Regions from separate parts of the Homo sapiens genome. Here regions 2, 3, 4, 5, 6 and 7 are each linked to region 1. The links are contacts of gene promoters, found by promoter capture Hi-C in human tissues and cell types (Jung and others, 2019). All regions are on one chromosome and are shown on one strand. Each heading gives the region's core, a stretch centred on a gene start or on the middle of the fragment in contact. The rest is flanking DNA. Distances are from core to core; before and after follow the strand shown. Region 1 holds the start of RELA (RELA proto-oncogene, NF-kB subunit). Region 2 overlaps PACS1 (phosphofurin acidic cluster sorting protein 1). Region 3 holds the start of PACS1 (phosphofurin acidic cluster sorting protein 1). Region 4 overlaps GAL3ST3 (galactose-3-O-sulfotransferase 3). Region 5 overlaps POLA2 (DNA polymerase alpha 2, accessory subunit). Region 6 has its middle 12 kb from the start of EIF1AD. Region 7 holds the start of C11orf68 (chromosome 11 open reading frame 68).

What was found. The method cuts DNA at HindIII sites, captures the fragments that hold promoters and counts their contacts. A contact is called where the count stands out against the background at its distance.
Region 2: a fragment that was not itself captured here is called in contact with the fragment with the promoter of RELA in region 1 in 1 of the 25 tissues and cell types used here (hippocampus).
Region 3: a contact is called between the fragment with the promoter of PACS1 here and the fragment with the promoter of RELA in region 1, in 1 of the 25 tissues and cell types used here (adrenal gland).
Region 4: a contact is called between a fragment that was not itself captured here and the fragment with the promoter of RELA in region 1, in 2 of the 25 tissues and cell types used here (dorsolateral prefrontal cortex and heart right ventricle).
Region 5: a contact is called between a fragment that was not itself captured here and the fragment with the promoter of RELA in region 1, in 1 of the 25 tissues and cell types used here (hippocampus).
Region 6: a fragment that was not itself captured here is called in contact with the fragment with the promoter of RELA in region 1 in 4 of the 25 tissues and cell types used here (aorta, dorsolateral prefrontal cortex, heart right ventricle and 1 more).
Region 7: the fragment with the promoter of C11orf68 here is called in contact with the fragment with the promoter of RELA in region 1 in 1 of the 25 tissues and cell types used here (spleen).

Annotation. Positions count from the first base shown.
Region 1 is chr11:65,660,835-65,664,165 of GRCh38, reverse strand. RELA (RELA proto-oncogene, NF-kB subunit) reads left to right here and starts at 1,250. Exons shown (of 11, transcript NM_021975.4): 1 at 1,250-1,340; 2 at 1,961-1,987; 3 at 2,078-2,229; 4 at 2,331-2,479. The coding sequence starts at 1,334. RELA-DT (RELA divergent transcript) reads right to left here and starts at 1,160. Exons shown (of 4, transcript NR_183625.1): 1 at 1,018-1,160. RefSeq lists an enhancer at 744-943 and silencers at 1,034-1,443, 1,504-1,563. The HindIII fragment of the contact is 29,460 bases long and covers 1-3,331 here.
Region 2 is chr11:66,122,632-66,125,962 of GRCh38, reverse strand. The region is part of intron 1 of PACS1 (phosphofurin acidic cluster sorting protein 1); the gene reads right to left. Among named protein-coding and RNA genes, the nearest start is that of PACS1, 54 kb to the right of the region's middle. The HindIII fragment of the contact is 8,035 bases long and covers 1-3,331 here.
Region 3 is chr11:66,068,474-66,071,804 of GRCh38, reverse strand. It overlaps PACS1 (phosphofurin acidic cluster sorting protein 1), which reads right to left and starts at 1,533. Exons shown (of 24, transcript NM_018026.4): 1 at 963-1,533. The coding sequence starts at 1,318. It overlaps SF3B2 (splicing factor 3b subunit 2), which reads right to left. Exons shown (of 22, transcript NM_006842.3): 22 at 2,497-3,131. The coding sequence ends at 3,060. RefSeq lists silencers at 589-793, 854-1,003, 1,014-1,143, 1,294-1,343, 1,354-1,973. The HindIII fragment of the contact is 13,254 bases long and covers 1-3,331 here.
Region 4 is chr11:66,041,997-66,045,327 of GRCh38, reverse strand. It overlaps GAL3ST3 (galactose-3-O-sulfotransferase 3), which reads left to right. Exons shown (of 3, transcript NM_033036.3): 2 at 1-37; 3 at 1,651-3,331. The coding sequence ends at 2,821. Among named protein-coding and RNA genes, the nearest start is that of GAL3ST3, 5.5 kb to the left of the region's middle. RefSeq lists a silencer at 1-45. The HindIII fragment of the contact is 5,576 bases long and covers 1-3,331 here.
Region 5 is chr11:65,279,527-65,282,857 of GRCh38, reverse strand. POLA2 (DNA polymerase alpha 2, accessory subunit) reads right to left here. Exons shown (of 18, transcript NM_002689.4): 7 at 3,232-3,320; 8 at 1,711-1,866; 9 at 1,126-1,188; 10 at 337-379. Among named protein-coding and RNA genes, the nearest start is that of POLA2, 19 kb to the right of the region's middle. RefSeq lists an enhancer at 2,389-3,331. The HindIII fragment of the contact is 6,666 bases long and covers 1-3,331 here.
Region 6 is chr11:65,988,569-65,991,899 of GRCh38, reverse strand. No RefSeq gene overlaps it. Among named protein-coding and RNA genes, the nearest start is that of EIF1AD, 12 kb to the left of the region's middle. RefSeq lists an enhancer at 2,469-2,538. The HindIII fragment of the contact is 5,676 bases long and covers 1-3,331 here.
Region 7 is chr11:65,917,219-65,920,549 of GRCh38, reverse strand. It overlaps C11orf68 (chromosome 11 open reading frame 68), which reads left to right and starts at 1,488. Exons shown (of 2, transcript NM_001135635.2): 1 at 1,488-1,640; 2 at 2,332-3,331. The coding sequence starts at 1,519. The coding sequence ends at 3,091. It overlaps DRAP1 (DR1 associated protein 1), which reads right to left and starts at 1,124. Exons shown (of 7, transcript NM_006442.4): 1 at 1,007-1,124; 2 at 698-770; 3 at 509-602; 4 at 88-207. The coding sequence starts at 1,048. RefSeq lists enhancers at 531-1,451, 1,452-2,371 and a silencer at 665-1,734. The HindIII fragment of the contact is 24,812 bases long and covers 1-3,331 here.

The sequences.
Region 1 (3,331 bases), core at 1-2,500:
GTCACCTGAAGTCGGCCTCCCCCGCCCCCTGCCAAAAGTAAACACTTTTCTAATCAGGGCCAGCCACTGGAGAAACTGAAATGAGTGGGCGGGGTGCTAACTCTATTTTCACTTTTCTCTTCCTGTTTCTTCAGAGCCTGGGAAACAAGTCAGAATTTCCAATCTTTTCCAATTCCCACATGATTTCCTAATTTAAGACGAATTCAGAGAAAATAAAAAAGTCTTTCTCCATCTGGAGAAGACTCCGCCCCCTGCAGTGGAGCATCCTCCTTTGGGGATGAGGCCTGGGGTGGGGGTGCGTCAGCCCCAGCCTCCACACGGACGCGCCTTGGGCTTGGTCTTGGGGGAGCTACCTGCACTGTGGGGTCACATGACAGAATTAGTGGTCAGCCCTAGCTGGAGGTCCAGGGCAAACACAGGCGGGGGCAGGGGGGTGGGGGGTCGTGAGCCTGCTGATTCAAGTGTCCCTGTGGGTCCCGCACCTTCTGAGACACAAGCGCCAGGCTTCAGAGACGAGGCTCCGGGATTTACCCCTGGGGGCCTCCTGCTCCCACAGCCGATGAGAGCCGGCAGTTTGGCTGTATCGTAAGCTGGCGCTTTAGCTGGAGAGGGACGAGCCCTCGGCCAGCTCGCCAGCGGGAGGGCCTCAGTCGTCCCATCCGGGCTGTAGGCTCCGCAAAGCTCTTGATGCACTGTCAGGCTGGGAGGTCCGGCCGCTCCCATTCCCCCACAGCCGCATCTAGATTGGGGTGGGTAGGACATTTTAACGTGCTTCTGAGACAGCCACCACCGAAAGGCACCTTTAGCGGTTAGGAAACCCGCGCGGAGTTCAACCACCCGGCCTCTGCGGAGCAGAAGGCCCGGTCGGGCTTTTCCCTGCGCGGGGCGGGCGGCCGCAGCCCAGTAGCCCTGGCTTTGCTCCAGACCCGGCCCAGAGTGACATCACCAAACTCCGCCGATCGGCGGGAGGGGGCCCTGAAATCCCCTAAAAACAAAGTGAGTAATCGGCGGACCCACCCTCCAGGCGGGGCCGGGACCCGGGAGCTAGCCGAGCCACCGGGCACGCCAGCCTCTTCGTCCTCGGCGAGGCGCGCACTTGGCCCCGACCCCCGGCAGCGGCTGTGCGTGCAGCCTCTTCGTCCTCCGCGCGGCGTGCACTTGCTCCCGGCCCCTGCGCCGGGCGGCGGCGGGGCAGCGCGCAGGCGCGGCCGGATTCCGGGCAGTGACGCGACGGCGGGCCGCGCGGCGCATTTCCGCCTCTGGCGAATGGCTCGTCTGTAGTGCACGCCGCGGGCCCAGCTGCGACCCCGGCCCCGCCCCCGGGACCCCGGCCATGGACGGTGAGGTCGCCCTCTGACCCCGCGGGGTGGCATCGCCGGGGCCGCCGCGGCTGTGGCGGGAGCCCCCGCGCCGCTTTCCGCCCCTTCCTGCGCCGACGGGCGCTGCGCAGGGAGCGGTCGGCCTGCCGGATGGTGGCGCGGGGCGGGGCAGGCGGGGAGGGGTCTGACTCAGTTTCCCCTCTGGGTGGAGGGGGTGGCCCTTGACTCAGCATCCTCCCTGGGTGGGGGAGCAGAGGGAACCTTGACTCAGTTTCCCTCCACACCGTCCATGGGGGCAGCTCTGGCTTCGTTTCCCTATTAGGGGAGAACGCATCTGATTCAGTTTCCTCTCTGGAGGGAGGTGGGGCGTGCCCTCCCTCAATTTTCCTTAAGAAAGTACAACAGGCCCTGATTCAGCTTCCCTCTGGAGAAGAAGGATTCCTTACCCCGTTTTCCCTCAAGAAGCAGGTGTTTCTGGTTCCTTTCCTCCACCCCTTAGTTTCACCGCAGGTTCTAGGGAGCAGGTCCTGACTCAGTTCCCCTGGGAGGGAGCCTGGCTTCTCCTCTCCGTGGAGAGCAGATTCCTCCTTGTGAGAATGGGCATTGGGTGTGTGCTGACCCTGATCTCCCTCCCCTTTCAGAACTGTTCCCCCTCATCTTCCCGGCAGGTAAGTGGCCCCCGCGGCGGTCGGGGAGGTGCTCCCTGGGGTAGGGCAGTGGGGGCAGCCGCCTAATGGGGCTGCGGTGTCCCCTGGCAGAGCCAGCCCAGGCCTCTGGCCCCTATGTGGAGATCATTGAGCAGCCCAAGCAGCGGGGCATGCGCTTCCGCTACAAGTGCGAGGGGCGCTCCGCGGGCAGCATCCCAGGCGAGAGGAGCACAGATACCACCAAGACCCACCCCACCATCAAGGTCAGCACTGCGCCAGGGTGTGCGGGGAAGGGACTGTGGAACCCCAGCCCTCTGTGTTTGGGAGTCAGGTTTGGATGTCTGGGCCTCTGTACTTTGGACAGATCAATGGCTACACAGGACCAGGGACAGTGCGCATCTCCCTGGTCACCAAGGACCCTCCTCACCGGCCTCACCCCCACGAGCTTGTAGGAAAGGACTGCCGGGATGGCTTCTATGAGGCTGAGCTCTGCCCGGACCGCTGCATCCACAGGTGAGGTCCCTGCAGGCTAGGAGGCCCAGCATGAGGGGACAGGAGGCGGGCTATGAAGTAGCCGCTACAGTGTTACTCCTTTCTGGACCCAGGGCAGAATTCCTCACTCCTTGCCCTGACTCAGCTCTGCAAGTAAACTGCCTTTGTCTTGAAATTATCTATTTGTACGTTTACTCTAGCAGATGAGTTCCAGGGGATACGGATGGGTCCCTAATCACTTCTGAATTCCTGACCCCTGTAGCTGGAAGGACAAGTCCCTCAGAGTCACGTCTCTTGTTTGAGGAAGAAAACCATTGAACCAGCACTCTCCCCTGGAGTTGACATTGCAGTTGACAGAGACAGGCTGTAAAAAAATATACAGGCCGGGCATAGTGGCTCATGCTTATAATCCTAGCACTTCGGGAGGCCAAGGCAGGAAGATCTCTTGAGCCTAGGAATTCAAGACTAGCCAAGGCAACATAGTGAGACCCCATGTCTACAAAAAATAAGAAATTAGCTGGGTATGGTGGCATGCGCCTATAGTCCCAGGGAGGCTGAGGTGGGAGGATCGCCTGAGCCCAGGAGGTCACTGCTGCGGCAAGCTATGATTGCACCACTGCACTTGGGTGGCAGGGCGATACCTTGTCTTTTTTTTTTTTTTTTTTTTTTTAAGAAAGAGTCTTGCTCTGTCCCCAGACTGGAGTGCAGTGGCGCGATCTCAGCTCACTGCAACCTCCACCTTCCGGGTTCATGCCATTCTCCTGCCTCAGCTTCCCGAATAGCTGGGACTACAGGTGCCTGCCACCACGCCTGGCTAATTTTTTGTATTTTTTAGTAGAGACAGGGTTTCACCGTGTTAGCCAGGATGGTCTC
Region 2 (3,331 bases), core at 240-2,739, 460 kb before region 1:
ACTCAAGCAATTCTCCTGCCTCAGCCTCCCGAGTAGCTGGGATTACAGGCATGCGCCGCCATGCATGACTAATTTTTGTATTTTTAGTAGAGACGAGGTTTCACCATGTTGGCCAGGCTGGTCTTGAACTCCCGACCTCAAGTAATCTGCCTGCCTCGGCCTCCCAAAGTGCTGGGATTACAGGCATGAGCCACCATGCCCGGCCTGCCCAGATATTTTAAACAGGACTGATTTTCTTCAATTACTTGAATACCTGAATTATCCCAGTTTTCTATTTTATTTTATCTACACAGGCATAGTTAGACACTGGTTAGAGTAAGACTAGAGGCAAAAGACACCCCTGGTTACTCTACTTGAATCTGTGAGTAATGTGTATTTTCATACACTTTGAATTATTTAACATGACTTAGCTCTCTGACCCTGGAAAATCACTCTGAATCCAGAACATCTTCAAAATAGAGGATGGAATAAAATTGCTTCTAAGATCCTTTTGACTTACTTGGTTTATATCTTCTTTACTATGGGATCAAATCCCATTAAACAGCAAGTCAGTGGCTCAAAATATTTCAAATACTAGAACTTCATTGTAGCAAATGATGCTAAAAGTAGAAATTTAATTGCAATAAGATTTGGTCTACGCATTAATTGATGTGGTACTTTAATTTTTTATTTCCGTAGGTTTTTGAGATTTTGGTGCACCCAACACCCAAGCAGTATACACTGTACCCAATTTGCAGTATTTTATCCCTCACCTGCCTCCTGCCCTTTCACCCGAGTCCCCAAAGTCCATTGTATCATTCTTATGCCTCTGCATCCTCATAGCTTAGCCCCTAGATGCTGTATTTTTAAAAAGAATTTATTGTTCACCAATGTTCATAGCAGCATTATTCACAATGGACAAAAGGTGGAAGCCACCCAAATGTTCATCAATAAAGAGACAGACATGGAAAGAAACAGTTCCTCCTCCTCAATGGGATGTTCTGGTGTCTCCCTGTGGCACCTGGAACTGCGACAGGCCACCTGAGACCATGGGGAGCCAGCGGGCAAGCCTGTACTGAGGATGACAAAGCAGGAGGGCAAAATGAACTTGGCTCCTTGATGCCTTTGCCAGGCTGCTCAGTTAACCAGCACTGGACTCACCCTTGCCCCAGACTTTTGTTTTCTGAAATGATAAACATCTGTGTGTTTAAGTCATTGAGCTGGCTTTTCTGTTTCTTGAAGGTGAAAGCATTCTAACTGATGACACACACTGACCTAAGATGTCTGACACACCATGAGACTTATGCAGTAATGAAAGGCAGAGTTTGATCTCCATAATTAACAAACTCACTGAAAGGCAAAATACACCGTTCTTGTCATTAAAATGCAAGAAAGGCTTCAGAGCAGGTAAAGAACAAGGTTAAAGTGCAGTAAGCAGATCCATACATTTAGCCATTCAATACATAAACGTGGACCCAGAAGTTATCCTGAATGAACCAATTATGCCCCACTTCAGAAATATTAGAAGATGATGACTTAAAATACTGTCTTTATGATCACAACAACCCTAACTATATAACTCTAGGTTATATTATTCCCATTTTATAGATGAAGACACTGAAGCAGAGAAGAAGCTGAGTAACTTGCCCAAAGCCATTATGTCCACAGTTTTCTCTGCCTGGAACTCTTCCTTCTCTTCACTTAGCTAATTCCCACACATCCTTCAGGTTTCAACTTAAGCAATCACTCCTTAGGAAAAAGGCTTCTTTTATGTGTTCAGACAAGGTCCAGAGCTCCTATTATGCTCCACTGCACTCCTGTTCTATGGCAGCATTTTGCACACTTGAGATTAAATATTTGTCTTCCCACTAGAATGCCCATGGCCTGAAACAGTTCCGTCTTTTTTACAACTAGACGGTATTGCCAAAGCTGCGCAGAATGCCTGCCCTTGACAGTCTCACAGTCTGATAGCGAGACAGCAAGTAAACAGTTCCTTGGAGATATTGTGGCTTTAGTTCCAGACCACTGCAATAACGCAAGTGACATGAAATTATTTATTTCCCGGTGCATATAAAAGTTATGTTTACACTATACAGTAGTCTATCAACTGTGCAATAGCATTGTCTTAAAAAAAAAAAAAGTATATACTTTAATTTAAAAATGGGCTGGGTGCGGTGGCTCACGCCTGTAATCCCAGCACTTTGGGAGGCTGAGGTGGGTGGATCACGAGGTCAGGAGATCGAGATCATCCTGGCTAACACGGTGAAACCCCACCTCTACTAAAAACAACAAAAATTAGCCGGGCGCGGTGGCAGGTGCCTATAGTCCCAGCTACTTGGGAGGCTGAGGCAGGAGAATGGCATGAACCCGGTAGGTGGAGCTTGCAGTGAGCCGAGATCACGCCACAGCACTCTAGCCTGGGCGACAGAGCGAAACTCTGTCCCAAAAAAATAAATAAATAAATAAAATAAAAAAATAAAAATGGCTTATTGAGCCAGGCGTGGTGGCTCACGCCTATAATCCCAGCATTTTGGGAGGCCGAGGCAGGTGGATCACCTTAGGTCAGGAGTTCAAGACTAGCCTGGCCAACATGGCAAAACCCTGTCTCTACTAAAAATACAAAAATTAGCTGGACATGGTGGCACGTGCCTATAATCCTAGCTACTTGGGAGGCTGAGACAGGAGAATTGCTTGAACCCAGAAGGCGGAGGTTGCAGTGAGCCAAGACCATGCTACTGCACTCTAGCCCGGGCAACCAAGCAAGACTCCGTCTCATTAAAAAAAAAAAAAAAAAGCTAACAATTTTCTGAGCCCTCTGCAAGTTGCAATCTTTCTCCTGGTGGAGGGTCTTGCCTCAATGTTGATGGCTGCTGACTGATCAGGATGGTGACTGCTAAAGGTTGGGGTATCTGTGACAATTTCTTAAAATAAGACAATGAAGTTTGTCACACTGACTCTTCCTTTCATTAAAGATTTCTCTAAAGTATGCAATACATTTGATAGCATGCTACCCACAGCAGAATTTCTCGCAAAATTGGATTCAGTTCTCTCAAACCTTACTGCTGCTTTATCACTAAGTTTATGTAATACATAGTTATTGTTATAAATTATTGTAATACATTATCATTTCAACAGTGTTCACAGCATCTTTACCAGGAGTAGGTCCCATCTCAAGAAACCACTTTCTCTGCTCATCCACAAGAAACATCTGTTCAAATTTTATCTCGAGATTACAGCAATTCAGTCATATCCTCAGACCCCACTTCTAATTCTAGTTCTCTTGCCATTTCCCCCACTTTTGCAGTTATTTCCTCCACTGAAGTCGTGAGCACCTTGAAATCATCCATGAGTC
Region 3 (3,331 bases), core at 284-2,783, 410 kb before region 1:
TACACATCCGTCTGCCTAACCAACAGTGAGGAGACAGCCCAAGACTTCAAGGCAACAGAATCAACTCAGCTACAAGGTGACAAAAAAGAACACCTCCAGGCACTTCTCTGGGCTTTCTGGGTGAAACCAGCTCCACACACCGTCTTATTCAAGTGGCAAACTGTAAGACACAGCACCCTGTCCCCAGAGTTGGAGACAGACTGCCTTGCCAATACAAAAACAGAAAATATTCCCAAACTCAGGCCTATTTTGCCAATGGAAGGAAAGTCCCCAGATGGTTCCAACAGACAGAGAGCAATGGATTGAATTTAGGAACAAGGCAGTAATTTCATACAGCCCTGCAGAGCTGGGAGATTCTGGGACCAGTTTTAGTGGGGGAGGGGAGGTAAAAATACACTTGAGGACACATTAAATAGGGCCCCAAAACTAAGAGCCTAGCGCTTGGGACAGAACGTGTGTAATATGAAGTTCAAATGAACATGTGTGCCGAAGGCTAATGAGAAGCCCCTAGGGTGATTATATGAGCTTTACCTGCAAGAGGTGACAATCGAGTTTGGCACATGCTGAGTCTATTGGGAAATAATAATATCAAGAGATCTATACCACATCCATGTATGTACAGCTCCCGGCGCCGGCGAGGCAGGAGAGTGACTTACTCAGGGAAACTGACTGCCAGGAAGGCCGGATTCGGTCAGCCCAATCGGAGAAAGCCCGGGGCCGAGGCCAGAAGGTCCCTCGGGGAGGACAGAAGGGTGGTCCCGGCCCCAGGCAGAAGGTGGGGCTGCCAGGAGAGGGCGGGTCCCCGTGGCAGGAGTCCCGGGAGGCCTGGCTGGAGCCAGGCCGGGCCGCGGGACAGTCGGGGAGATGGAGGGCGGGGACCCCATGGGCGCTGGGGCGGGGAGGGCTGGGCCCCGGCGGCCACCCCGCTCCCCCGGCGCCCCGCCGCACCCTCCCGCGCTCACCTAGGCACGCAGCTGGACGAGCTCCGGTCCACCTCCCAGGTGGCGTACAGGTTCATCTGCACCGGGGCGGGGGTGCGGCCTGGCCCCGGGCCACCGGGAGGCGCGGAGCCCGAGGCCACCGCCACGGCCATGGAGGTGGAGGTAGACGAGGACGAGGAGGAGGCAGCCGCCGCCGAGGTGGACGAGGACGACGAGGTGGCCTGGGCCAGCTTGGGGGGCGTCGGCTGCTGCGGCGGCTGCTGCTGCTGCTGCTGCGGCGGCGGCTGCTGAGGGGACTGGGCGACCCCGGATCCCCGCTGGCCGCTGCCGCCCCCGGCGCCTCCGGGACCACCGCCCGCCCCTCCGCGTTCCGCCATGGCCCGGCTAGGCGGGGGTTACGGAGGCCGAGGCGACGCCGATCTGGCTCCCAGGCTTCCCCCGCGGCGGCGGCGGCGGGGGCGCGGCAGCCTCCTCAGCCCGCCTGCCCGAGCGCGAGCAGCCAGCGAGCTGCACGCACGCGCGGGGCCTCTGGGCGCGCGGGCCTCGCGCTCGACCGCCGCTGCCTGTTGCGGCTCGCGAGGCCGACACGGGTGGGCGTGTCCGGGAGGGGGCGGGGAGCCCGGCCCGCGCGGCCCCACCCAGCGCGGAGGGGCCGGGCCGGGCGCGCTCGCGCCCTGCGTGCAGCCACGCGCGCCCCTCGCTCCCGCGGAGTAGAAGGGGTGGTCTGTGGCCAGCGCGCGCCCACGGGTCCTGCCCTCAAATCCGCTGCCAGTCTGCCCCCGCTCCTCCCCTCCCCGCCCACGGCCGGCCGCGGCCCCGCCAGCGGAAACCCGGCTTTTCCGGGATTCGGTCCCTGCAGGGAGGGGGCCGCCGCGGGAGCGCGCCTCGGCCCCTCGGGTCTTCGGAGCCAATGCGGAACCCGCCCCCAGCGGTGGGGGTCTGCCCGGGGAAGCCGGCTCTCCGCCTGCCGACCTAGCCCTGCCCTGCGGCCCCGGCAAACAGAGAGGTCGGCGGAGACCCGGGGCCCGCTGCCACCGCGGGTGCCTGTGATCCGGGAAGTTCCCGCCCCGAGGGCAAGCGGGGGCTCAGGGACCTGGAGTCCAGAAGGTTCTTCGCATAAGTGAATTCTCAAGCTACCCCGGGGCCCATCTGGAGCCAACCTTCCTCTTCTTTCCCTACCCCCCAAATGCCTCTTTAGAGTGCCAGTGCTTTGTTGCTTACCAAATTTCTAAAATTCCATTCCTCCTAAGGCCTAGCTCAGCTGCCACGTCCTATCTGGATCATGCCCCCCACAACCCCGAGACCATCTTGAACCCTCCGGCAAGTGAGCGCCTCCACTGGTGCACTTAAACACCAACAGTAGTACAACAGCAGCGCATGACTACCCTCCCCACAGGCTGGCAAATGCCCATGGGAGCCAGTGATCCAGCCTGCTCTAGTCTGTCAGAAAGGCTGCTCAGGACCAGATTACAACCTGGAGAAAGTAAGTCCCCCCATCCCACATACAAATCCCAAACCCCAGCGACTAGTGTTGCTTGAACCCAAGGGTTCATATGGACTCAAGACAATTTAGCTTTTGAGCTATGTTGTCGCACAGGTAAGGACTTGAACTTCTGGTCACAAGGTCAGTTGGGAAGGCCTGCCCTGGCCTACTTCCCAAGCCCACTGTTACTTCCTCTGCCGCGCTAGGGCGCTAATCTGGCTATTTTTACTCCCCAAGGACAAAGTAGTAAGGTCAAACCAGACCTAGAGGTACTTCCCCCAAGCCTTCCTACAAAGCAGGGCAGTGGTGAAACACAGATTTCAGCCTGGGGTTGGCGTCACCACCAGTCAAATGCGCCGTCTAATCCCAGTTTATGTTCGTGGTTACTGGGGCAGCCCAGTGATTGTAGAAAGAGACTATTTTAGTCCTTTTGCAAGAAGGGGCTAAAAGGAGATGAGGGAGGCTCAGGAGTGTTAAATATTCATCTCTTTCCTTGGGAAACAGCTTTATTTACAAAACAGGTCTAAAATAAGAACATGAAATGACAAGTCCTTGGGAACTGCGGGAGAGGTGGTTCTTGTGTGAAGCCCAGGCATCCAGACGTAGGGCCAAAAAAAGGGCTAGTGTGAGGGGACCTAAAACTTGAACTCCTTATATTTCTTGCTGCCCCCACGGCTGTCCTGGGGCTGAGCTTTCCGTTTTTTTTGCTGTATAGGGAGAAAGAGACACAGGTTAAGACAGGTTGAACCACCCCCGGACCCCCAAAACAAGGGTGGGCAGCCTGACATAGACATAGAAGTCTGTGGGAAAGGCGCTGAATCTGAATTCTCTTCGAGCTCCCTCTCAGACTTGGCTGAGTTCCTCCCCCTCATCGTCCTTAAAGAGGGCAGCCCACTGGAGGATTTCT
Region 4 (3,331 bases), core at 350-2,849, 380 kb before region 1:
TAAGCCTTCTCATCCACCAGGGGGCGCAGCTCAGCTGGTAAGGGGGCGGGGCCCCAGGGGGGCCGGAGCTCCCCTCCCCATTCTTCCACCTGCTAGAAGGGTCCTGCTAGGCTTTGCTCCTCCCCTCTATTCTGAAAGTGCTTTCCCTTTAGGGCCACACAGCCTCCCTGGACAGGGACTGCTCTTCAATGAAAGGGCTGAGTGACTTGCTCAAAGTTACAGAATCAGTTAGCTGAGATCCGAATCCAGCTCAACTCCCCACAGCATGCAGCTAAGCATTTCCCCAGTGGAAACAACTTCTCACAACTTCCGTAGTGCTGGGCAAGGCCAAGTCCCCTCACTTCTCCGAGCCCCCGTTTTCTCATCTATAAAGTGAGACATGATATGTGTGACACAGCCAGTCACCCTCACACAGGATACCATGTGATTCATGGGAACCCCAACCCTACTCCTGACTCACTGTGTGAACCCAACAAATCCCTGCACCTCTCGGAGACTTCATGTCCCCATTTTCTACACTGTCTGCCCCTGAGAATGGTGTGAATGCGCCCAGCCCCCCTTGCCAGATAATTTGGTTTGAAATCCCAAACACCCATGTTTTAAGAATGAAGCAACAGAAATGAAAGCTTCACGAGGGCTAGGATTGTTTTTGTATATTACTGTATTTCTTGAACCTAGCATTAACCTGGCACATAGTGGACACCCAAAAAATATTTGATGACTGAATTAATGAGGCTTTAGAAGCCTCAAGAGAAACATAACAATGGGTTGCTGCAAAGCCCAGTGCCAACCATCTACAAAGTGAGGAGCCAGTTAAAGAGTAAAAATGAGAAAGAGCAAAAGGATTTAGTGACCATGTGAGTCGTCTCCAGACTTTGTGTAAGTGATTGTTCTCCTTTTGGCCCTCAGTTTCTACATATACAAAGTGGGATTCCTCAAAGATCTCCAGGGGTCTTTGTCCCTTATTTATTTCTACATAAACAAATTATCTTAAAGCTTAGCAGCTGAAAACACAAACATCTGTTATTTTGGGTCAGGAAGCCAGGTGTGGCTTACTGGGAACTTCTGGACCAAGGTCTTTCATGGGGTTGCAACCAAGGTGTTTGCTGGTGATGCAGTCTCATCCGAAGGCTTGATTGGAAGGGATCAGCTTCCAAGCTCACTCACGTGGTTTTGACAGGCTTCAGGTCTTCAAGCCGGCTGGTGGACTGAGGGCCTTAGGTCCTTGTGGGCTTTTCCCACTTAGTGGTAGCTCCCTATAGGGCTGCCCACTATATGGCAGCTTGCTTCCCCCATCATCTGTCATCCCAGATTGAGTGAAAGACACCAAGATACTAGCCAGCCACAGTCTTTCTATGATGAAATTTAAGAAGTGACATCCCATCATTTCTGCCCTCTTCTCTTCTTTAGATGCAATGATAAGTCCAGCCTAACTCAGGTGAGGGGAATACTCAAGGGCATGAATACCAGGAGGGCAGCAGGGATCATAGAGGGCATCTTAGAGGCTACCAAGCACCGCCCTCGACCTTTCCATGAGTGCAGCCCAGGCGGGGCCGCGCTGTGGGGCATCCCACAGTCCTTGGGTAAGGGCAGGGGTCAAGCGGCAGCCCCCTCACACCCTCCTCTCCGCACACTCCCTGGGCCTGGCAGGTACCCCAAGCTGTTCCCCTTGAGCTGCCCTCCTCTGCGGAACTCGCCGCCGCGCCCCAAGCACATGACTGTGGCCTTCCTGAAGACTCACAAGACGGCAGGCACGACGGTGCAGAACATCCTGTTTCGCTTTGCCGAGCGCCACAACCTGACGGTGGCCCTGCCGCACCCGAGCTGCGAGCACCAGTTCTGCTACCCCCGCAACTTCTCGGCGCACTTCGTGCACCCGGCCACGCGGCCGCCGCACGTGCTGGCCAGCCACCTGCGCTTCGACCGTGCGGAGCTGGAGCGCCTCATGCCGCCCAGCACCGTCTATGTCACCATCCTGCGCGAGCCGGCCGCCATGTTCGAGTCGCTCTTCAGCTACTACAACCAGTACTGCCCGGCCTTCCGGCGCGTACCCAACGCCTCGCTCGAGGCCTTCCTGCGCGCGCCCGAGGCATACTACCGCGCTGGCGAGCACTTCGCCATGTTCGCACACAACACGCTGGCCTACGACCTGGGCGGCGACAATGAGCGCAGCCCGCGCGACGACGCCGCCTACCTGGCGGGCCTCATCCGCCAGGTGGAGGAGGTTTTCTCGCTCGTCATGATCGCCGAGTACTTCGACGAGTCGCTAGTGCTGCTGCGGCGCCTACTGGCCTGGGACCTGGACGACGTGCTCTACGCCAAGCTCAACGCGCGCGCCGCCAGCTCGCGCCTGGCCGCCATCCCCGCGGCGCTGGCGCGGGCGGCGCGCACCTGGAACGCCCTGGACGCCGGCCTCTACGACCACTTCAACGCCACCTTCTGGCGCCACGTGGCGCGCGCGGGCCGCGCGTGCGTGGAGCGCGAGGCGCGCGAGCTGCGCGAGGCCCGCCAGCGCCTACTGCGGCGCTGCTTCGGGGACGAGCCACTGCTGCGGCCTGCCGCGCAGATCCGCACCAAGCAGCTGCAGCCGTGGCAGCCCAGCCGCAAGGTGGACATTATGGGCTATGACCTGCCCGGCGGCGGCGCCGGCCCGGCCACCGAGGCCTGCCTCAAGCTGGCCATGCCCGAGGTCCAGTACTCGAACTACCTGTTGCGCAAGCAGAAGCGCCGGGGCGGTGCGCGGGCTCGGCCCGAGCCCGTCCTGGACAATCCCCCGCCTCGGCCCATCCGAGTGCTGCCTCGCGGCCCTCAAGGTCCCTGAGCTCCGCAGGCCTCCAGGAGTATGGGTCCTGCCCTGCCCTCCCAGGAGTCCAGCCAGGGGCTGCCTCCATGTCCTGCCCCCATGAGAGCCCTTTCTTTTCAAGGGGCTTGAGTCCCTCGCTGAACTTTGGGGTACGCCTCCCTATCTGAGCCCCCGCTCCCGATCGTGGGCTGAACCTTGCCTTCGGGCACGGCGCTGATAGGCTGGATCCAGCGCTGGGCCACCCTCTCCTTCCCAGCTGGTTGGTGATTTTGACAAGAGGCCTGAGGGCTGTCCAGAACTGCTCACCCTGCCTTTTTCTGGGGGCTGAGCCCCCACAACCTGTCTTTTCCAAGTGGATAAGCCCAGGCCCCATGGAGAGAGGCTCAGCCCTAGGGAAAGGCTGCTCTTGCTCTCCCTCCCAGGGCTTGAGGCTCCCTATACTTTTCTGTCTTCCAGGTTCTACCCTCCCCACAGACCTAAGCTGCTCCCAGTCTCCCAGAACCAAGAGTTCTTGGGTTGGGATTTTTG
Region 5 (3,331 bases), core at 1-2,500, 380 kb after region 1:
CGCATCTGCCCATGCTGCATGTAAATAAATTCTTTTTGAAATCGTACATCTTTTCCTTTCCAAGGCAACCTTCAAAAATACCTGTTAAACATTAGTCTTTAAACAACATGCTTCATGTAGGCAGAACTCAGGCGACAGCACGACCAACGCTCACTGGGCTCAGACCAGGGGTCTTGTGACAAAAAACCTACGAACTCATGATGGTGGCGCCCTCACTGCTTGGTCACATTGCTCTTCAGCAGCTTCTGCAGCTTTCTTGGGCTTGGGAAACTGCACTCCTGGACTCATGTCTACCATCCTCATTGTTGGCAAAACAATATTTGAACCGAAACTCACCTGCATCCTCTTCAGTGGGCTGATAAAATGGAAGTGGCACACCCTAAAAACAGGGGAAAAGCTCAAGTAAGGTCTTGCGCCAGGCATCACCTTGGTAAGGAAAGGGGAGGGCACCAGGTTGGGGGTGGTGCAGGTGTGTGATGGGAGGACAGTGGGGAGGAGCGAGAGGGCAGGGGAAGGATGTGCCTCTGTCTTGCTCCCTGGATCTGATGGGACCTGCCATTTTTCTATACTGCTCAGAGGGCAAAGAAACCCAGGTAATGGGAGGTCACTACTCAATTGTCATAAAATACCCAGCAACAAGTGGGAGCAAAACAGGTGCCTAAAGTATCAGTGTACTTCTAGGCAAGGATGGGAGAGAATGGTTTCTTGCTACTTTTCCTGGCATTCTACGAAAATCTCTGGAGGATTGTTGCCTAGAGCAGGGATAGGTAACCTTTCGGCCTCTGGGCCAAATTTGGCTGCAGCCCACTATTTAAATAAAGTTTTATGGGAACACAGCCACAGTCATCTGTTTAAGAGTCCTCTATGGCTGCTTTTGTAGACAAAGGCAGAATTGAGTCATTGTGACAGAGACCATATAGCTACAAAGTCTAAAAGAGTTACTGTCTGGCCCTTTATAGAAAGGGTTTGCTGACCCCTGGCCTAGGGGTGGGTTCCCACTTACAGATGGAGAACTGACTAACAAATAAATGGGCTCCTAAAAAGGACCAGTTTCTAGAACAGACAGCTTCCAGACATACTTTGTCTGAAGCAAACCAAGAGGCAAGTGGGGGTACTGCTGTGTACCTCGTAGAGTTTGGTGGCAACAAGTTTCCTACCAGTGGTGTTGATTCCTTCCATAATTACAACCTGAAAGACAAAAACAAACAGGATTGCTAAGCAGTGGAGATCAATGAGGTCTGGAATACATTATTTTGAGGCAGTTAAAAGCATTGTCCAACTACTCTCATTCTGTAATCATAAACTTAGGGCATTTTTGTAGAAAACGAATTAAGGGCGTTGCATTAGTAATAATAATTATGCTCTATATAAGTGATCTAATTTTCACAACAATCCTATGAGGTAAGAATTATTATTTCCATTTTGTGAGTGAAGAAACTGTAGTTTAGATGGTTAAGTACCTTGTGCACAGTCATGCACCTCATGGAGCGGGGAGTTGGGATTTGAGGCTGCGCAGTCAGGTCCCAGAGCCTGGGTCAGAGCATGGGGGAAACAGGAATCCCAACAGTGGTGTCTGCTCTGGGGCATGTGCTCCAGCTGCACCCCATGGCAGCAGAGACAGGAACTGAGGAGCAGCTGCGCATGGCACAGCACCTACACTACAGGGGTAAAGAGTGCGCCTGCATTCTGGTGGAACTCCTCCAATCTCACCTGTCCAGGAAACAGAGAATATTCCTTAAGCTCAGATAAATCCACTGGAATTTGAGCACCCGAGGAATGTTCCCGGTCTCCCTCGAGAATCACTGACTTGTTGTTCAGCTTCCCGTTGCTATCACAGCCAATCTGGCCCAGCAGAGTGACAGGCTCCTACCAAAGGAAGGTCACAGCATAAGAATGACAGTCTTTGGAGCAGGAGCTCAAAATCTGAAGTCGATAGGGTGAATAGCAAAACAAACTGCAAACAACAAATACATTTCTTGGCAGGGCATTGCTTTGACCCTGAGGTGACTACCGCGTCATCACTGACTCTCAGGATGGAAGAACTCTGAAAGGGCATCTTGTCCACCCATCCACCCAGCACTTGAGCCTTCCTAGGAGGCTGCCTAAGTGTGAGCATCTCTAGTGTAGGGGAACTTGCCCCTGGATGCCTACCCCACCCTGTCCTCACCACCCCAGGGCAGCCCACTGCATCTTTGGGCAGCTATAACTACTTAATAATAGCTAACATTTCTTGAGCTTACTAAATACCATGCACTGTTCTAAAATGTATTCTTAGGCATTTTATATGTATTAACTCATTTAATCCTTGCAACAACCATCGGGTGGATATTACTGTATCCATTTTACAGATGAGGAAAACAAGCAACAGAAAGGTTAGATAATTTAGTCAAGGTCAAACTGTGGGTGAAGCTTGGGTTTGAAACCAGAAATTTGGCTCTAGAGCCATATCCTTAGCCACATACCATACAACCTCTTAACAGGAAGTTCTTTATTAATTGAGCTAAAATCTCTGTCTCCATGGCTTCCTCTGTTCTGTTCCCACTCTTGGGAGAAAACAGAGGAAGTCTCATCTTTCCCAGTGATTGTGCCTCCCTGCCTTCCCTCAATTACTTCCTTCCAAGTCCTCTAACACTTCCTTCTATGACACAGTTCTGCATCACTTCCCCAACTGATCATTCTTTGAATGTAAACATTGACAAAGGTACTTTAAAGAAACTTCTAGAATATATTTCCCCTTAGATTAGAAAACATTCTAGAGAGAAAGCACTGGTATATATGCCAGATTAAACTATGATATAAAGATACTATTGGCAGCAGTTTGTCTATAACAAGAGACCAAACCAGGGGAGAGACTGTGAGTCATTGTCCAGAGAACAAGATTCTGAAAACCCCACCGTCGCTGCTGTCCTTTTATCTCGATACGTGAATGCTTCTATTTGTGGGAAATCCCCGGGGAGCTACCTGACTCACCACCAAGGGAAACAAGGCCTTGAGTCTCTGCTTATGTGCAAGACTCTAATCCAAGTGGGAAGAAAATCACTCTCTGGCCACAAAACCAGACAGCACTTACAAATCTTTCTTCAGAAGGGCCCATTTTCCCAAATTCAACCAAGACAGATGTTCAAACTAGAACACAGACAAGAAGTGAAAAAGGAAGCAAGAAGGATGCCTCTTGGTCATCGATTTAAAAACGTAATATTAATTAGTGAGAACTATTAGAACAACTCTTACCTGTGCTGGGGCTAGCAAAGGAGTGAAAGCTTCAATCTTGTAATGTTCCTTGAGTTCGCTGCCAAGTTCTTCTATCTTACAGGTCAGAACTACAATCCCA
Region 6 (3,331 bases), core at 285-2,784, 330 kb before region 1:
TGGGTGGGTAGGTAGGTTTGGAATTAGATTGTCAGTGGTAATAGATTACTCAGGTGTTCTGTTCTTCAGTCATATTTTCAAGGAAAAATATTTTCATGTTATTTATTTATTTATTTATTTTTGAGACAGGATCTTGCTCTGTCGCCCAGGCTGGAGTGCAGTGGCCCCATCTCGGCTCACTGCAACCTCCGCCTCCCGGGTTCAAGTGATTCTCCTGCCTCAGCCTCCCGAATAGCTGGGATTACAGGTATGTGCCACCATGGCCGGCTAATTTTTGTATTTTTAGTAGAGATGGGGTTTCACCATGTTGGCCAGGCTGGTCTCAAACTCCCGATCTCAGGTGATCTGCCCACCGCAGCCTCCCAAATTGCTGGGGTTACAGGCGTGAGCCACCACACCCAGCCCCCATATTTTCTCATGTTTGCTATGGCTTCAAACTTACTGGCGCAAAGTTATTTGTATGATTGCCTTATGTTTGTAATCTTGGCTGTATCCAAAGTTATGTCCCCCTTTTTACATGTAATATTGTTTATTTGTGCCTTCTCTCTGTTATAGCTGGTCAATCTTGGCAGAAGGTCATTATTAGTCTTTTCTAAGCACCAGCTTTTTGTTGTCATTCTTTGTATTGGTATTTCATTAATTGCTGCTCTTACCGTATTTCCCACTTATACTCCCTTTGTTTTTGTTTGTTTTTGTTTTTTTCTCATAACCAATGGGAAACAAACCAATCCCTCTGGGTTTATCCTGTAGTTCTTTTTCTTTTTCCTTTCTTTGTTTTGTTTTGTTTTGTTTTGTTTCTGAGATGGAGTCTTGCTCTGTCACCCAGGCTGGAGTGCAGTGGTGCAATCTCAGCTCACTGCAACCTGTGCCTCACAGGTTCAAGCCATTCTTCTGCCTCAGCCTCCTGAGTAGCTGGGATTACAGGCGCCCACCACCACGCCTGGCTAATTTTTATATTTTAGTAGAGACGGGGTTTCAGCATGTTGACCAGGCTGGTCTCGAACTCCTGACCTCAGGTGATCCACCCGCCTCGGCCTCCCAAAATGCTGGGATTACAGGCGTAAGCCACTGAGTCTGGCCTATATTTAAACATTTTGGCTGGGCATGGTGGCACATGCCTGTAATCCCAGCTACTTGAAAGGCTGAAGGGAAAGGATTGCTTAAGCCCTTGAGGAGTTTGAGGCCAGCCTGGGTGACATAGTGAGACTCCCTTTCAATAAAAAATTAAAAGTCAAGAATAATTAAATATTTGGTTGGTTATTTTTAATAATGTGAGCAGCTTCAAACCCACCACCATAAAATAAAGGCTAGGACTTTAACAATAACCCAAGTAACATACTCCACCTCCCATCCTACCCTGACCAGCCCATTCTCTGCTGTCCCACCCAAGGCAACCATTGTCCGAATTCCATGTGCACTTTTTTTCTTTTTACATGGTTTGCTTTATTTTTATTTATTTTTATTTATTTATTTATTTACTTACTTACTTACTTTTTGAGATGGAGTCTCGCTCTTGTCGCCCAGGCTGGAGTGCAATTGTACGATCTCAGCCCACTGCAACCTCCGCATCCAGGGTTCAAGCAATTCTCCTGCCTCAGCCTCCCGAGTAGCTGGGATTACAGGCCTGCACCACCACACCCAGCTAATTTTTTTTGTATTTTTAGTAGAGATGGGATTTCACCATGTTGGCCAGGCTGGTCTCGAACTCCTGCCCTCAGGTGATCCACCCGCCTTGGCCTCCCACAGTGCTGGGATGACAGGTGGTGAGCCACCGTGCCCGGCCTGGTGCTTCGTCTTTAGTAGTTGCCCAGTTGTCTCCCAGGAAAGTGACTTGGGCCACAGAACCGTGGGTTTTGTCTTCATTCAAGGCCCAAACATCTCTACTGACCTGTGTCTGAGAAGCACACAGAGAAGTGTGGGCAGTTTCCTCAGTGGGAGCCGCCCTCAGAAAATCACTGATGAAGCAAGAAGTCAGGACACCACGGACACCACCAGCAGTTCATGCTGTGCGTGTGTTTGATCCACTGGTGACATTTGCAAGAGAATCCAAAAGCCCCTGTGGGAGGTGTGGAGGCATGCCGTATGCCTCATCTGGTGACACTGAGGAATGAAGAATTAGCAGTACAGGCTGGGCGCGGTAGCTCACGCTTGTAATCCCAGCACTTTGGGAGGCCAAGGCAGGTGGATCACCTGAGATCAGGAGTTCGAGACCAGCCCGGCCAACTGGTGAAACCCTGTCTCTACTAAAAAAATACAAAAATTAGCTGGGTGTGGTGGTGCACGCCTGTCATCCCAGCTACTTGGGAGGCTGAGATAGGAGAATCGCTTGAACCCAGGAGGGGAGGCAGAGGTTGCAGTGAGCCGAGATGGCGCCACTGTACTCCGGCCTGGGCAAGAGCAAGACTCCAACCAAAAAAAAAAAAAAAAAGAACTAGCAGTGCCCAGGGCTGTACACCAGGTGCCAGTACTGGCAGCAATTCTTCCAGTTATTGTGATAGATTCTCATGACGCTAAAATACCCACTTTGTTATTTAACCCTTGCTAATCCACAATGAGTTGCCAAGTACCAGAATCCTTTGTTACTAACCAGACCAGGCTGTTCATTCTTGAACAGCATTGGGCATCACTTTGTTTTAATAATTCTTGTATGAGAAGAGCACTCTTTTCCTTCTGATAGCAATGTGGCTCCAACTACTGGCTGATGTGAGACGGTACCGGCAGTTCCTGGCTGTGTATTCTGCCAACATTTAGAGAAGCCACCAGCAGAGGTCACCCTAAGCACGTAAAACCAGCAAGTCAGCACCTTGCCTTGGGCTACAGAACCCGAAAGCATCTAACCTAGTTACAGTCTCATAAGGGAACTGCATTCTTGGTCCAATCAAAGGGTCCACATGCCCCAACAGCAGTTAGGATGCTGGTAGACCACTGCGAACACAAGTTCCACTCCCCCAGAGATGGATTCACTCACCAAGGCATGATCAGAAGTGGCCTTCCTCCCCAGCAGCATTTACAAGCTGGAGTACAGTGCTTGGAGGGTGGTGGGGAACTGCCCTGGTTTTTTTGTTTTTTGGGGGACCCAGTTTCACTTTTCTTGCCCAGGCTGGAGTGCACTGGCGCGATCTTGGCTCACCGCAACCTCCGCCTACTGGATTCAAGCGATTCTCCTGCCTCAGCCTCCCAAGTAGCTGGGATTACAGGCACGCACCACCACGCCTGGCTAATTTTGTATTTTTAGTAGAGATGGGGTTTCTCCATGTTGGTCAGGCTGGTCTTGAACTCCCGACCTCAGGCGATCTGCCCGCCTTGGCCTCCCAAAGTTTTGGGATTACAG
Region 7 (3,331 bases), core at 239-2,738, 260 kb before region 1:
ATCTGCCCGGAGTGCTCCCTACTCCTTGGCCACCCCCAAGCCCTGTGGCCTTGGCCTTCCCCACTGTATGCCAGGCCCTGGCCCCACCTGCGGGCGCCCTTGTCCCCATCCATGTGGTTGTCTTCCCCGTCCCCCTGCATGTCGGGAACAGATGCCACCAGGTCCTTCAAGAAGTCAAACTGCTGCTCCAGCTCGATGCACTGCTTCCTGGAAGAGGTGAGGAGGGGCTGGCACTCAAGAGGGGCCCAGACACCCAAACCCGCAGTGGGTGGCAGCAAGGGGCCCCAGATGTCAGGCTGGAGCCCGGGCCGATCTCCGCTCCCGGGCCTGCCCTGCTTTACTCAGGTGGCTCCCTCTGCCTGGAAGCCCAGCCTCTCCTCTGCCAGTCTGTGGCCTTGCTGGTGTCCCGGCTGCCGCCCACCTCCCTCGCCACCCAGGCTCTGCCTTCCTCAGTGTGTGAACTCCCCGCGCCAAACCCGCCGGCCCCTCCCGGCTCCTCGCCGCTCACAGGTGGGATGTGGTCATGGTCTTCGCGTTCCGCGACTGGGTCACCTGGCAGGCCTTCTTCAACAGCGACTCTAGGAAGAGCTCGAGCGCCCGGGCTGAGGAGCGTCAAGGAGAACTCCGGGGCAGGAGAGGGCGACCCGCTGCCTCCCTCCCCCACGCCCCTCGACCCGGTCCGCCCCCGGCAGGATACAGATGATGACAGGCACCGCCGCCGCCACCTTCCCAATCTCTTCGTCCGTCTGCATGATCTTCTTGATCCGCGCCTGCGGGTGGGGGAGCAGAGTTCAGACCCCGTCGCCACCGTCCCCTAAGGGGGTGCTGGGGGAGGAAGGGGCATCCCCGGAGAAAGGGGGCGGGGGACACGGACGCGGGGAGGGCATGGAGGGGGCGGGGCGTCCAGGCCCCCGAACACCGCGGCGCGCCCGCCTGCCCAGCGGGAACTGGGCCCAAGCCACCCGGGAGCCGGGCCCACTCCTGCCGGGCTCTGCCACGTGCTCACCGGCGGGAACCGCGCGTTGTACTTCTTCTTCTTGCTCGGCATCTCGGGGCCTCTCTCGCCGCGTCGGGTCCAGCGCCGCCGCCCGCAGCCTCCCGGCTCCCGGGCCTGCTCGCCGCCCGCCCGTCGCGGTTCCCCTGGGTCCTGGTGCCGCCCGCTCCGCCCCCGCCGTTTCCCGCGGAGTCCTAGCGCCGCCGGTTAAGACGCCGCTCGCAGGGCCCTAGTGCCCTCCTCTTGAAGCCTCCTGGCCGGTGCGCGTCCCTCCCCAGTCTGGACCGCCGCTCCCGCCCGCCCCCAAGGCCAGAAGAGCGAACGTTGGCCCCGCCCCCCGCGGCCCGCCCCTCCCGGGGTTCCCGCGATGGCCCCGCCCCCGAGTCAGCACCTCCCCGTCGGCCCCGCCCCTTCCCCTGCCGGCCCCGCCCCACAGCGCGGCCGCTGCGGCCGCTGAGGCCCGCGGCTCCGCCCTGTGGCTGCGCCTGTCTATAAAGTTGTTGTTGAGGTGGCGCGGCGCTAAGATGGCGGCGGCGGCGGCGGCGGCCGTGGCGGGGGTGGGGCGCGGTGGCGGTGGCGCGGAGCCACGGCAGGAGCGGAGCCGGGCCCGGGGCTGGGCCGGCGTCGAACGCAGCGAAGGCCGGAGGTGACTGCGGGCGGCGGGAGGGGCAGGGCAGGGCCGGGGCGGGAGCACAGCTCGGGCCCGTGGGCGTTAATGGCGGCGGGCGCGGCACGGCCGGAGCCTGGCTCTCCTGCAGGCTCTAACAAGCCCTGGTTCGAGTCTGGGAACCGCCCCATTGGCCTCGGAACGGCCTGTAACCTCTCTGGACTTCAGCGTCCTCGTCTGTAAGTGGGCCCGATAACGCCTGCCTGGGAGGCCTGGCCTTACAGAGCCGGCCTCGGGAGCTGCGCGAACGTGCGCTTCTTTGCGTTCCTCTATTAAATGCCAGCGCACCGGATACCTGCCAGGAAAAGGGGGCCTTGGCAGGGCCGGGAGGTGTAGCTGGGGCTGGTTGCTCCCACGCCTGGATTCACCCTTCGGCCCTGCCACGCACTGCAGGTGTGACCTTGGGCAAGTCCTTTTTCTCAGCCTCAGTTTCCTTTTCTGTAAGTCAAGGAGAATAGTAATAACTGCAGCAACCCTTCTGGAGCGCTGACTCCTCAGGCATCTAATTTTCATAGCAGATCTACGGGACAGGAACAGTTGTTATCCCATTGTAAAGATGAGGCAACTGAGGCGCATCGACAGTAACTCTTACTCAAGGCCACAGTTTAATCCAGTGCCTGGCATCTGTAGTTATTGTCTCAGACCCTGCCCTGACTCGGTTCCCTCACAGCAGGATGGAACCAGGTGAGGAGCTGGAAGAGGAGGGCTCTCCAGGTGGCCGTGAGGATGGCTTCACCGCCGAGCACCTGGCTGCAGAGGCCATGGCAGCTGACATGGACCCCTGGCTAGTGTTTGATGCCCGCACAACGCCTGCCACTGAGCTGGATGCCTGGCTGGCCAAGTACCCACCATCCCAAGTTACCCGCTATGGGGACCCCGGTTCACCCAACTCAGAGCCTGTGGGCTGGATTGCAGTGTATGGGCAGGGCTACAGCCCCAACTCCGGGGACGTGCAGGGCCTGCAGGCAGCCTGGGAAGCTCTGCAGACCAGTGGGCGGCCCATCACACCGGGTACCCTGCGCCAGCTCGCCATCACCCACCACGTGCTCTCGGGCAAGTGGCTTATGCATCTGGCACCGGGCTTCAAGCTGGACCACGCCTGGGCTGGCATTGCCCGGGCCGTGGTTGAAGGCCAGCTTCAGGTGGCCAAGGTGAGCCCACGTGCCAAGGAGGGTGGGCGCCAGGTCATCTGTGTTTACACGGACGACTTCACGGACCGCTTGGGTGTACTGGAGGCGGATTCAGCCATCCGTGCAGCGGGCATTAAGTGCCTGCTCACCTACAAGCCTGATGTCTACACCTACCTGGGCATCTACCGGGCCAATCGCTGGCACCTCTGCCCCACTCTCTATGAGAGCCGTTTCCAGCTTGGGGGTAGTGCCCGTGGCTCCCGAGTGCTTGACCGTGCCAACAACGTGGAACTGACCTAGGGGGGCCAAATTGGGGAGACTGCCCACTCCCCCCTCCATGCTGGGGTTGGATCCTCCTGTCTTCCTCCTTGTCCTATGAAGGCCACACCCCCCAGCTCTGGGGACTCCTAGGTCACTTGGGAACTACCTGCATCTTCAGTCCCCTTGAACTTCTGCCCTCTGTTCAGGGCTGACACAAGCCCCACAGGCTGGGGGGCTCCGGTTCCCTGAGGGATGAGCCTTCAGCCTCCCTTTGTAATG